4 separate regions of the Homo sapiens genome follow, and regions 2, 3 and 4 are each linked to region 1. Evidence: promoter capture Hi-C in 16 types of primary human blood cells and fetal thymus (Javierre and others, 2016). All regions are on one chromosome and are shown on one strand. The core of a region is centred on a gene start or on the middle of the fragment in contact, and the rest is flanking DNA. Distances in the headings are between cores, read along the strand shown. Region 1 holds the start of UFM1 (ubiquitin fold modifier 1). Region 2 has its middle 200 kb from the start of LINC02344. Region 3 holds the start of RFC3 (replication factor C subunit 3). Region 4 holds the start of AKAP11 (A-kinase anchoring protein 11).

Region 1 (2,976 bases), core at 209-2,708:
ATGTAAACCCTCCAGTCTGTTATTTTCTCCAGGGGCAGTCAGCTATGTACAGATAATACAAACAGCTGGTTTCAGAGTTGGTGTTTCACTAACCAAAATATGCTGAGAGGAGAGACAGGGCCACCAGAGTTGAGGGTGTTTGCATGAGAATGATTTAAAGGTGGACCAATGGACTCTTAACTATATAAGGAGTAAGGTAAGGAATAGAAGTGGGGATAGCTACAGATAAAAAATCACTGTGATTAATGGATTAAATGAAACGTTGTAGATGAGAAATTATAGTAAATCATGTAGGAGAGAATGTATTTATCCATAAGAGTGCCTGTAAACGACATCTCAGAGATGGAGCAATTATTGGAATCTTAAGGTTCTAGGCTGCAACCATGAACACCTGAGATAAAGTGTAACAGGGATATTTTGGAGATGAAAAGATCAAGGGAGGAAAAGGCTGAGAGGTTGTACGGATCATGGATTGGTAAATCATTGAAATTTATCAGTCAGCTAGGTAGGCCAAGGTACTAATTAATTATGCAAAAAATTCTATTGTAATCCTGTTCTTTGCTACATTTCATGCTACTTCCAACTGCAATAACCTCAAGAGTGTTTACTTAAAATCTATCACTCAACTGCGAAGGATAAGTAAAGGCCCCACATGGATAAACTATCCCCTATCTGCATTTCCCATTCCTACCAAATACTCTATTAAATCCCAGCATAGGAAGGGTGTGATCTGAGTCTCATTACTTTGTGATGCCCGACTGCTGAGTTACTCATACACAACGAAACTCAGAAGCCGCGGAATAACAAATGTTCAAGTAATTTCAAAGTCTTGACTATCAAGATGGAATGTCTTCCTTAACTTCCTCAACCAGCTGGCCAAAGCGGTGAAACGCTTTTCTAATATCCAGCAGATGGGGACTGTTTAAGAATCCCAACAAATTACCAGAACCTGGTCCACCTGTCCTCCCGCGCCACCTGCCCACCAAATGAATTCCGAGGGGAGGTCACTAATCAGAAACACACCCACACCCTCGTGACGGGGCCAAGCTGCCAAGCTGACACTTAGCGAGCAAGTACGGACCTCTCCTCGCAGGCTCCGGTGGGAAAGGCTCCTGGAAGGGCGCGAGCCAGGAAAGTAGATGAAGTGAAGAGATGAAGACTGCGTGGGGTAGTTGTTGGAAAAGCTCGGATCATCCCCAACCCAGCCCCGTCTTGTCCGGCCCCAAAAGGCCCATCTCGGCCGAGCTACTCACACTTTGTACGGCAGCCGTGGGTCCGACGTCAGCGTGATCTTAAAGGAAACCTTCGACCTGAGGAAAAGAGCGGGAGAGAGTCAGGGTCGGGCAGCTGGACCAGGAATTATGGCAGTCGGTAAGCAAACACTTACATGGTGGTGCCGGAATGAATCCAGAACACACGACAACTCCGCGGGGGTAGCACGACTTCCTCTAGTGTGCTGGGGACCGCCCCGCTCCACTCACGTCCACGTCTCCCTCTGCAATCTGGGGACCTCCGAAGTTGTTGCTATCCAACGCACTGCCTGAAAATTGGCCCTAAGAGCTCATGCTAGATGGCGCTTTTAAATTACAAATATCTTGTGCTTTTGCGTTTATATATCTAAGAAAAAAGTATGGATTATATTTATAAGATATCTTTCTAACTTTGGTAATTTGCTACCATATTTTTAGTCAGGCAGAATAAGCGTGGGCATAGAGCGTAGGACCCTAGGTTCCAGTTGGCAGGTTGGGGCGGAAGTAAGGGTATGGGGTAGTCGGATGAAGAGCGAGATGGACTTGGGGCGAAGCTCGGGGCGAGGCCGGGGGCGGGGCTGGGGCGGACGCGCTCTAAAGTTTCTAAGGCAACCTGAGCGCGGAAAAGCTTAATTGGTGCTCCAGAAGCAGGAATTGTAACACTGCTTTATCATTAGTTTTCTTCCGTCTTTCCAGCAAACCAATCCTGTTATATCCTTTACATTTCTCATAGTTTCTCCTTCACGCTTTACTTTCCGATACTGATTTATAACTATTGAATTTCGGTTAAGTAAGAGAGCTATCAAGTACGAATTATCTATGCCAAGACTCCCGCTGGGGTGGGTGAGAAAAAATGAGGTTTCTACGTTTGGGGAACGTGGCGTCTAGTTGGGAAGACACATCTATGAACAGGAGATTTCAGTAATTTGTTATATGGTCTAATTAAACCAGTGCGCTGAGTTGCTAATCACTGACCACATTTATTCAATTTAACAACCAACTTTGAACCCTTTCTATTTGCCCGGCGCTAAGCTAAACTCTGGGGAATCCAAGATGAGTAAGGCAGGTAGGCGTCAACTCTCTAGGATCTAACATCCTGTGTAGTGATGACGGAAGAAAATTGTCCTCTAAACTTTATTACAGATCTAAACCTCTGTGTTTGGAAAATATGCGTCTGTCTCACAATGACTGAAATGCCCTTTTAAAACATTAGCATGAATAGACAAAGGAGGAAGCAGGTAGGCATTAAAATAATGGGGCAATCTAGTTGATCTTTAGAATATGCATCAGATTCTTAAGGAGAGATACTTAAGAGAGGAACCAGGAAGGAACTGTAGTAGGGATAATGGAGATCAAATTCATCTTTACAATAATTTTGCAGCCAACTGATCTTCTATGGTGACATTTCCCAGTGGAGAGAGTTCTGGTTCTGAGTAGGCAAGTAAGACTCCAACATTCTCATGACAGCCATCCTCACTTTTTAAAATAATGGTCTTACCATATATGTAGATGAAGCCAAATATTGATTGACAGATACAGGGATCAACAGTTACAGCCTTAATAGCTGAAACTATTCAATTAGTGGGTGTGACTAAAACTTGTGAGAATAGTAATAAGGATAAAACTGTGATTGTGTCTACCTATTGTCAGCTAGCCAAATAATAATGAAAGAGATGAGTGTACATATTTACAGTCTATAAGACTACATATAATATATTTTGAAACA
Region 2 (2,976 bases), core at 128-2,627, 4.8 Mb after region 1:
TATATCCCATTTAGTTGCTTACTTTTTTTTTTCGACTTTCCCATCTTTCTCTACATCGTATATAACCAACCTTAAATTGAGGGATTGCTTCATTTTGCTACCATTATACTATAAAGTTACAGTAACATAGCCCTTCACAGTTCAAAGAGTACACATATATTCAGAAATAGTGGCATTGACTCCTTTGCAAATATCCTCAACTCTTATCCCTCACTTTTAGCACTTCCCTGGCAAAACTCAAACCATGGATGAACTCCTGCATGCATTTATCTTTTCTGAGCTTGGGCTCAGCCTGTTAACTGTTGGGTGGACTAGTGTGATCTCACACCTAAATTGGCTCTGCATATTGATCAGCTCTCCTACTCCTTTGCTTTACTGACTTTGCCCTTTCCTTCTGTAATCCAAATATCTCATTCTTTTCCTTCCTCAAATTATCAACTTCCTCAACTAATGACTTTGCCTCACACTTTATTGAAAAAAGAATTGTGAGCATAAGCCAAGAATTTTTGTGTATTCCCACCATCGAATCTATTTGTGTCTGCACTCATCAAACATCCTTGTATAGGAACCCCCTTTATACATGGTATTGCTTTCCATAGTTTCAGTTACCAACTGTCAACCGAGGTCCAAAAATATTTAATGGAAAATTTCAGAAATATAAATTTTAAATTGCTAGAAGTTCTAAGTAGTGTGATGAAATCTCATGCTGCCTCTCTCTGTGCCTCCCAGAACGTGTATCCTCCCTTTGTTCAGCATCCACTATCACAGTTATCAACTATCACCATATCACTGAGCTTGGATTCAAATAACCTATATTTTCCTTAATAATGTCTCCAAGGCCCAATAGTAGTGATACTGGCAATTTGGATATGCCAAAAGAAGCCTTAATGTGCTTCCTTTAAGTGGAAGGTGAAAGTTCTCGACTTAAGGAATCACCTAAGGTCACTAGGAACCAAGTGGTTGGTAAGAATCAGTCTTCTATCTGTGAAATTATGAAGAAAGAAAAAGAAATTCGTGCATAATATATTTAGGGTAGGGTACTCTCTGAGGTTCAGGCATCCACTAGGTTCTTGGAACATTTCCCCTGAAGCTAAGGGGGAACTACTATAGTTTAAAAGGGTGACAGGTCTTTTTATCAAATGCCAACACTTGCTATTTTTAGTTTTTAGTTTTAGCCATTAAGTGGGTATATGTTCAAAACTTTTGCCCATTTTAAAACTAAGTTGTTTGTAATTGAGTTGTAGGAGTTATTTACATACTATGCGTATGACTTTTTTGTCAGAAGTATATGTTGTGAATATTTTTCTCCCAGTCTGTGGCCTGCTTTTTCATTTTCTTAAAAGTGTCTTTTAAAGAGCAGCTTTTGTTTGTAAGTTGTATATTTGTAGGGATTTGTACGTATCCAAATATTCATTAGCATAAAGCTGTTCATAAAATCCTCTCATTTCTGAGATTCACAATATATCTTATTTATGTTTACGATCCACTTAATTTTTAGTATGGCACAATAATGGTTGATAGTCATATTTTTCAAAATAGAAATCCTGTTATTCTGGTAGCATTCGTTAAAAAGATTATCCTTCATTGAATTACCTTGGCACCTTTATTAAAAATCTGCCGATCTTCTGAATTTCTATTCTATTCAATTTCATTGATAAATATGTCTGTTCTTAACCCAGTCCCACACTGTATTGATTACTGTAGCTTTATACGTCTTGAAATCAGATAGTGGAAGTATTTTTTTCCTCAAAATTACTTTGGCCATTCTAAGTCCTTTGCATTTTAATATAAATTTTTAAATTGTCATTTCAATTTCTAAAAACATCTGCTGGGATTTTGAATGGGATTCTGTTAAATTTATTCATCAGCTTGGAGAGAACTGACATCTTAAAAATACTGAGTTTTCCAATCTATGAACATGGCATATATCTCCTTTTATTTTGATCTTTAATTTCTGTTTGTAATTTTCAGCATACAGGTATTGCACATACATTGTTAAGTTTCTTCCAACACATTTCATGGTTTTTATTCTAAGTGTATTTTTTTAGTTTAAGTTTTCAGTTGTTGAATCATTTTATTTTAGTTCTAGAATTTTCTTATGCATAGATTCTACGTCTCTAGTATTAATAAATGCAAGGCCGGGCGCAGTGGCTCACGCCTATAATCCCAGCACTTTGGGAGGCAGAGGTGGGCGGATCACAAGGTCAGGAGATTGAGACCATCCTGGCAAACACGGTGAAACCCCGTCTCTACTAAATATACAAAAAATTAGTCCGGCATGGTGGCAGGCACCTGTAGTCCCAGCTACTCAGGAGGCTGAGGCAGGAGAATGGTGTGAACCCGGGAGGCGGAGCTTGCAGTGAGCCGAGATTATAACACTGCACTCCAGCCTGGGTCACAGAGCCAGACTCCGTCTCAAAAAAAAAAAAAAAATTAAATAGTTTGTGCCCATTAACTCCAGTATTTGGATCATCTGTGGATCTTGTTTCCATTATCTTTTTCTTCTGTTTCCTGGTATGCCCAGAAATTCTTTATGAAATGTTGTCTTTGTTTATGAAAAAAAAAAAAATACTGGGCTCTGAGTGGTGTTTTTTACTTTATGGAAGTATTTGTAGGATTTACTTTTGCTTCTATTAGGAAGCTAGGCTAAGGGCAGAGCACCTTAATCTAATATGGAAGTGAGATTATTTCAAACTGGTTTTTAGACTTTGTTAGGTCTCGTCTATTTCAGGTTCTTTCTTACTCCTGAGGTGACCCTTTCTGTGTCCCAGCTAAAAGCCGAGGTGTTAGGCCTTCCCTCTTTCGTGGGCCCTGAACTCGCATTTTTATTTTCTCAATCAGTGGACTCCTGAAAGCAATCTCTTCTCAGCTTCTCTGCTTCTTAGTTGCCATTATCTGTGTAACTTCTCAGCCTCTGAAACAACTTCCAAATTGATGAATAAGGTAAGGGGAAAAAGAGAGTCAAATATGGGCAGA
Region 3 (2,976 bases), core at 262-2,761, 4.5 Mb after region 1:
AACGATCTTTGGAGTAAATACATATTTACAACACTTTACTTGTAAATGACAATGACATCGAGAAATCTTAAGCCAGCTAGAAAGTAAATCACATGGTGTCATCTCCGCTCAAAATGCTCCAACGGCTTCTCGTCTTATTCTGAGACTGACTGGGTCTGCACTCCAACTCCATCCCAACACATACACCCATCTCCGATTACCCTTCCCGCTGGTTCACCACTATCGGCTACGCCGGCCTCCTGAGGTTCTTAGAACATGCCGTGCACATCCCTGCCCGGGAATTTTGCACTTGCTGTCCCCTCTTACCTGTTCCACTCTTTGCTCGGATTTCTGTATTTATGACTTTTCAATTTCCTTCAAGTCTCGGCTCAGATGCCACTTCTCAGTGGAGCTTTTCTTGTTTAAAAATACAAGCCAGCCTCCCACACCTCTTCCCCCTTCCCTGTGTTATTTTTCTCCATAGCACTTATCACCTTCCAATGCGGGCGGGAGAAGCACTGCTCCTCAGGGGGGCGCGAAACCCCGAGCCGGGGGGCCTCCCCTCTCCCACGCTCCCGGCCCCCGCAGACTCACCAGGTTCCGCAGCTGGGCCGCCTGCTCCTTGTGATAGTCCAGCCGTCCCAAGGAGCAGGGCCGATACTTGTCCACCCAGAGGCTCATGGCAGCTCGAGTTCCCGGGGGCCTACGCTTGAAAATCCCGCGCGAGCGCGCGTCCTCCCCACAACGCAGAGACAAGTTTTCCCGCGAGCTCCAAATCTCGTGACGTCACTACCGGTCGCGGCCGCGTAAATGATTTTGGACGGAAAGGCTACGGGGGCCGTGTGCAGACAAAATCAGCTGCCGCGTCGATGCCCTCTAGTTCTGAAGTTCACTGCTTTATTTATTTTCTCTTTGTTCGCACCGTCTATTATATTCTAGAAATTATCAAGCGGAATTGAAAATGTGGTTCTGACCCTTTTGGCGTCACATCCAGATACCTCAGAGAAGACCGTTCCTTTCATTTATTCATTCTTTCATTCACTTAATTCATTCAACAAAAATTTACTAAATATCTGCTAGGTGTGGAACTCTGTCCTCGGCACTAGAATATATACATCTCAGGGTTTCACTCACTTGGCAGGTACCCAGTAAAGCTTCATTGGATGAATCGCTTGAAAATGTCTGATCTTCACTATCCTTTGTTACCTCTATTCCTCAATATTCTTATTGGATTAGAAACAAAAGAATCAAGAGCATGGAAAAACTACCCAAATGTGGTCTGTAGGGGAGAAGACACGAGGTTAATATGCATTCTAAGTCTAGAATATTTGAAAGCCCTCCAATTAAAATGTGTAGAAGCATCTGAACCCCTCAGAAAAATATTCTGCATATGAAGTTGATATGCAACTTTTGAAGTTCTCTTCAAATAGTGCCTCTCAAAATGCACTTTACTCATTGTACATAATATTAATTCCTTATTTAATTTATGCTTTTATTTTATGTATTATTAAGAACCCTAAGTCCTGCCATTTGATTGCAAGGTCTTACAGGCAGGAAATGATTTCCAAATATACTTAATAACCTTTCACCAAGGTGCCTCTTACTCATTTATTAATCAATAATTTATCATGTTCTTCTATGAATCGTCATATTACATGAATTACTCCTGCAGGTAAGGTATTATCCACACCACCAAGTATAAGATTTAATCCCTGTTCTCGAGAAACTTTCTATAATAAGCCTGGAAGGCTTCTGCCTCAGGGCCTTTGCAATTACTGTTTCCTCTTCCTGGACTATGTTTCTCCAGTCAGCAGAGTTGGGTCCCTCATTTCCTTCAGGATGTTGGCTCAAGTATTATCTCCTCACTGAGGCTTCCCTGACCACCCTATTTAATATTGCAAAAAAGCTTCATCTTCTTTATGCTTCTCTCCTTTGGAATTGAAATGGAGGAAGTGTTTGAAATGAGAAGGTAAAGGAAATCAGAAGCAGGGATACTGAATTGTGGTCTATGTGTATATCATAATCATAATGAATGATAATGGAAATAAGTACTGAGAGGAATAAAGAGAAGAACCAAGTGCTAGAATGATCAATAATTTGGCAAGAGTGACCACAGGCATGACAGACAACTTCAATAAGGAGCAGTGGTTGATGGTCTCTACCGTGAAGACATGTCTCTACCATTGAAGCACATGAAGACATGTGCTTCAATATTGTTGGGGGTTCTGAGGAAGGAGAAATAGTGTGGTGACCCAGGAAGTCCAGTTAAATTTGAATTTCAGAAGCTTTTTCATATGTCTATGGCAAAATTTATTACAAATGATTTTTTTTCTCATATAAGTATGTCCCTGGCAATATTTGAAATTGTAATAAATATTGCCAGGGACATACTTATATGAGAAAAAAAATCAGCCTTTATCTGAAATTCAAATGTAACCAGGGCCCTGTATTTATCTAGCAATTTTACTCCAGACTCTTGAATATATAGGATATGAGAAATTGCTACAGAGGAAGTAAAGTCCTCGGGGTTGGTAAACTACAGCTGCAATCACTTTAATGTTTAATGACTCTGGCCCTCAGGTATCTTAGCTCTTTTTTTTTTTCTTGAGATGGAGTCCCAGTCTGTCTCCCAGGCTGGAGTGCAGTGATGCGATCTCGGCTCACTGCAACCTCCACCTCCTGGGTTCAAGCGATCCTCCCACCTCAGCCTCCCATGTAGCTAGGGTTACAGTTGTGCACCACCACGCCCAGCTAATTTTTTGTATTTTTAGTAGAGACAGGGTTTTACCATGTTGACCAGGCTGGTCTCGAACTCCTGAGCTCAGGCAAGCCAGCTGCCTCGGCCTCCCAAAGTGCTGGGATTACAGTAGCGAGCCACCACGCCCGGCAATCATATAGTAATTGTAAGTTTAATTTTTTGAGTAACTGCCATACCGTTTTCCACAGTGGCTGCACCACTTTACATTCCCATGAGCAATGCAAAAAGATTCCAATTTC
Region 4 (2,976 bases), core at 250-2,749, 3.9 Mb before region 1:
TCAACAACTGCAAAATATCACTGGCCTAGGAGTCCACTGCTAGGCCCTTATCAATATTGTCGATACTGCAGTTATGTGGGTACATACATTAGTCTCTAGCTCAGCTTGGGAACCCACTTCTTCCCTGATTTCCTTACATTCTTTGACCTTTCATAAATTACTGTTACAGCTACAATAGTGACATTCACTGTCCACCCCTGGGTCAGTTTTGTCAGGAGGAACAACGACAAGAAAAAATGAATAATCAGGGTACCGTTTGAAAAAGTAAATGTGTTTTTCAAAAAAAAAAAAAATCATTCAATTGCACTATTTTAACTGACACCAATCATGCCAGGCACTGGGCTGCCATCCTAAAATGATGACATTAAAAAAAATATATCTGTGCATTACTGATACCCCATTTTTTCTTAGTACTCCATATTTTGAGTATTTTCAGACATAACAAAATAACAATCGACATGACATTTCTAAAACAGTGGGAAGCAGCTAAGCAAAACGAGCATTTTGCAAGCGATTGAAAAGCTGAAAAGAGAACAGGAATTAACTCCAGTTTGTACTAAAGCTATTAGGTATGTATCTCAGCAGTCTTTCTCACCATGAAACTCCTTAACATCTAAAGCTAAACCACATCCAACTTTATATGGTTTTAGAAGACAGACAAAGCAGAGAAAAAAAATGAAAGCTGGTAATATGGGGAAGAGAAAAAATGTTAGCTTTTACTGTCATTGTCACTTTTTAATACTTCGGTTACATCTACATATTTTTTATAAAGCAGCTTAGATGCCTGGATTAACAGCAGTATACTCAATCCATTCGGGGTACTTTATGGCCAGCCTTAAGCCATTAACAGCCTAGGAGAGTATTTGACAGCAAATCCAAATATCAATACTCTGAGGAGCCCCTTGACGCCTTCCGTTTACAAGATCTGAGCAGCGCCTGCTTCCAAGGCTCCGGGGGTCTGACAGTGAAGGATGCTGTTCGGGAACAAAGTGCAACGTCCTCCCAACCGCTGCAAATGTTCCTGTGCGCACACCACGAACACACACTAAGCACGCGCACCACGCACCCGGGGGGCCGTCTCTGAAGACCACCCCGGGGATGGAAACAGCCTGTCATTAAAAGGGGCGGCAGCTCCACCGCCACACTTGGGACCCCAGGAAGACGCGTCTCGAGACCCAGCACCTCCCTCTACTCTGGGCCCGGTGCGGTGAGTTTCCTCCTTCGGCCGCGCTCCTCCCGCCCTCCTCCCTCCGCCATGCGAAGGCGCAGCTCTCGGGCGGCCCCGAAGCCAGAAGGGGGACCAGCGGCAGGCGGAGGGGCTGGAGCGCCGGAGCCGGGCCGCTCCATCCATGCCGGCCGCACACCCGCCGCCACCCCATCTAAACGCAGCCTCCGCGGCGAGCACGTCGGCGCCCGGCTCACCTGGGGGCCGCAGCCTCCGCAGCTCACAGACATGTCACCGGCCTCAACGACCCGTGAGCGAGCCGGGCAAGCAAGCTGGCCCCCTCCCGCGCTGACCCCCAGCCCTCCCCCTCCCAGCCCCGCGGCCCGCCCCCGCCCTGCCCACCCCTCGGCTTCCGCCGCCGCCGCCGCCGCCGCAGCTCCGGCCCGCAACACCGCCTACTCTCCACGCCTCCCACTCTCTCTCGCGAGAGGGCAGCGCGCCTCTCGCGAGAAAAATTCCGCGGCCGAGCCCGCGCAAAAGTGGGTGGGCGTTTAAAAAGGGAAAGAAGGAACAGGAAAAAAAGCCTTCCCACGTGCTCCAGTGCAGCCCGCGGAGCAGCCCGCGGGGCAGCCCCGCTGGTCACATGACTTAAAGGGGGCCTCTCCATTGGCCGGGACCCACTCAGCCTTGGGAGCTTTAAATTCGAGGGCGACCTACGAACCTGCGGCGGACGTCTTGCGCGCTTCCTGGTCCGTTGCCTTGGAAACGGCTTAACCCTTCCCTCTGGCAAGTCCCCAGGCCTTGGCTTGCTCCGCAGATTTGGTTTCAGGCTCTGCCTCTTTTCCCTCGACCCCTTAGTCTTAACAGCCTGGGGCCAGCTGGGCTCCTTCTTCGCCACAAGGCTAGTTTTGCTTTCTTCCGAAGCCCGGGGCCCTTCCCAAAGTGGCAGCCCCACCAGATCCGAAGGCCCAAGGAAGGCTCATCCTTTCTGATGGCTCCGCCCCTTCTCCCAGCATCTCCGGGGAGGACCACTCACAGCGCACCGGGCAACCAGCCCTATCCCAGCCAAGAAGTAGCTTCCAGGGTTCTCAGGGCCCTAGTGCTCACCCTGATGTCTTTACGTGGTATGGAAATCGGAAAGTAAAGCTTTGGTCACTGGGAAGCCTAGCCAGAGATGAAAAGCTGTTATGGTGATTATTTTCACCTAAAATCGGAAGGGCCAGTCCAGTCAAATTGCCCTGTCTCCTAAAGGGCATCTGTTCCTCAAGAGTGGAAACACCTGGCAATAAGAAAGACATTTTTGAGTGTATCCTCGTTATGAGTTAAGTTTTGCCCTGTTCAGAGGAGAGGGTCACGGAAGAAAGGGTGCATTCGTTTGTTCATTTCTTCATTCAACAAACACTACTCTAGGCTGTTGATTGAACAATGATGAAGACAAGTAGTGTAGATTCTAGGGAACTTATCTGAGGGTGAAAAGAAAAAAAATCTGTTGGTTTTAAGCTGTATGCAAAGAAGTTACAATAAGTGACGTGATGGTGATGGTGACTGAGTGGCTAGTAAAGGGGATGCCCTTTTAAGGAGGAGATATTTTAGCAGCGATTTGAATAACAGACGCAAAAATCAGAGCATAGAGCATTCCAGGAAAAGGATAACACTAATTCAAAGGCCCTAAGTAAGGATCTATTCTAGTGCATTTGAGGGAAGAAGAAATGAGAAAGTAAACTTTCTTGAGCCTGGAGATGGAAACTGTAAGAGTTAAAGAAAGAAACACAAAAAGCAGCTTAACAGAGACAGGTTTATTTTGGAGAATA

What was found. The method cuts DNA at HindIII sites, captures the fragments that hold promoters and counts their contacts. A CHiCAGO score of 5 or more calls a contact.
Region 2: a fragment that was not itself captured here is called in contact with the fragment with the promoter of UFM1 in region 1 in 1 of 17 cell types (total CD8 T cells); the score reaches 6.9 in total CD8 T cells.
Region 3: a fragment that was not itself captured here is called in contact with the fragment with the promoter of UFM1 in region 1 in 4 of 17 cell types (non-activated CD4 T cells, total CD4 T cells, total CD8 T cells and 1 more); the score reaches 8.2 in non-activated CD4 T cells.
Region 4: a contact is called between the fragment with the promoter of AKAP11 here and the fragment with the promoter of UFM1 in region 1, in 6 of 17 cell types (total B cells, non-activated CD4 T cells, monocytes and 3 more). The highest score is 12.5, in total B cells.

The regions. Positions count from the first base shown.
Region 1 is chr13:38,348,333-38,351,308 of GRCh38, reverse strand. UFM1 (ubiquitin fold modifier 1) reads right to left here and starts at 1,458. Exons shown (of 6, transcript NM_016617.4): 1 at 1,388-1,458; 2 at 1,254-1,310. The coding sequence starts at 1,389. RefSeq lists silencers at 907-1,121, 1,819-1,928 and an enhancer at 1,499-1,708. The HindIII fragment of the contact is 2,541 bases long and covers 1-1,880 here.
Region 2 is chr13:33,538,229-33,541,204 of GRCh38, reverse strand. It overlaps a transcript of STARD13 not described here. Among named protein-coding and RNA genes, the nearest start is that of LINC02344, 200 kb to the right of the region's middle. The HindIII fragment of the contact is 6,829 bases long and covers 1-2,976 here.
Region 3 is chr13:33,815,863-33,818,838 of GRCh38, reverse strand. RFC3 (replication factor C subunit 3) reads right to left here and starts at 690. Exons shown (of 9, transcript NM_002915.4): 1 at 574-690. The coding sequence starts at 660. The HindIII fragment of the contact is 752 bases long and covers 1,136-1,887 here.
Region 4 is chr13:42,270,675-42,273,650 of GRCh38, reverse strand. AKAP11 (A-kinase anchoring protein 11) reads right to left here and starts at 1,499. Exons shown (of 13, transcript NM_016248.4): 1 at 1,423-1,499. RefSeq lists a silencer at 1,240-1,589 and an enhancer at 2,130-2,309. The HindIII fragment of the contact is 2,900 bases long and covers 1-2,313 here.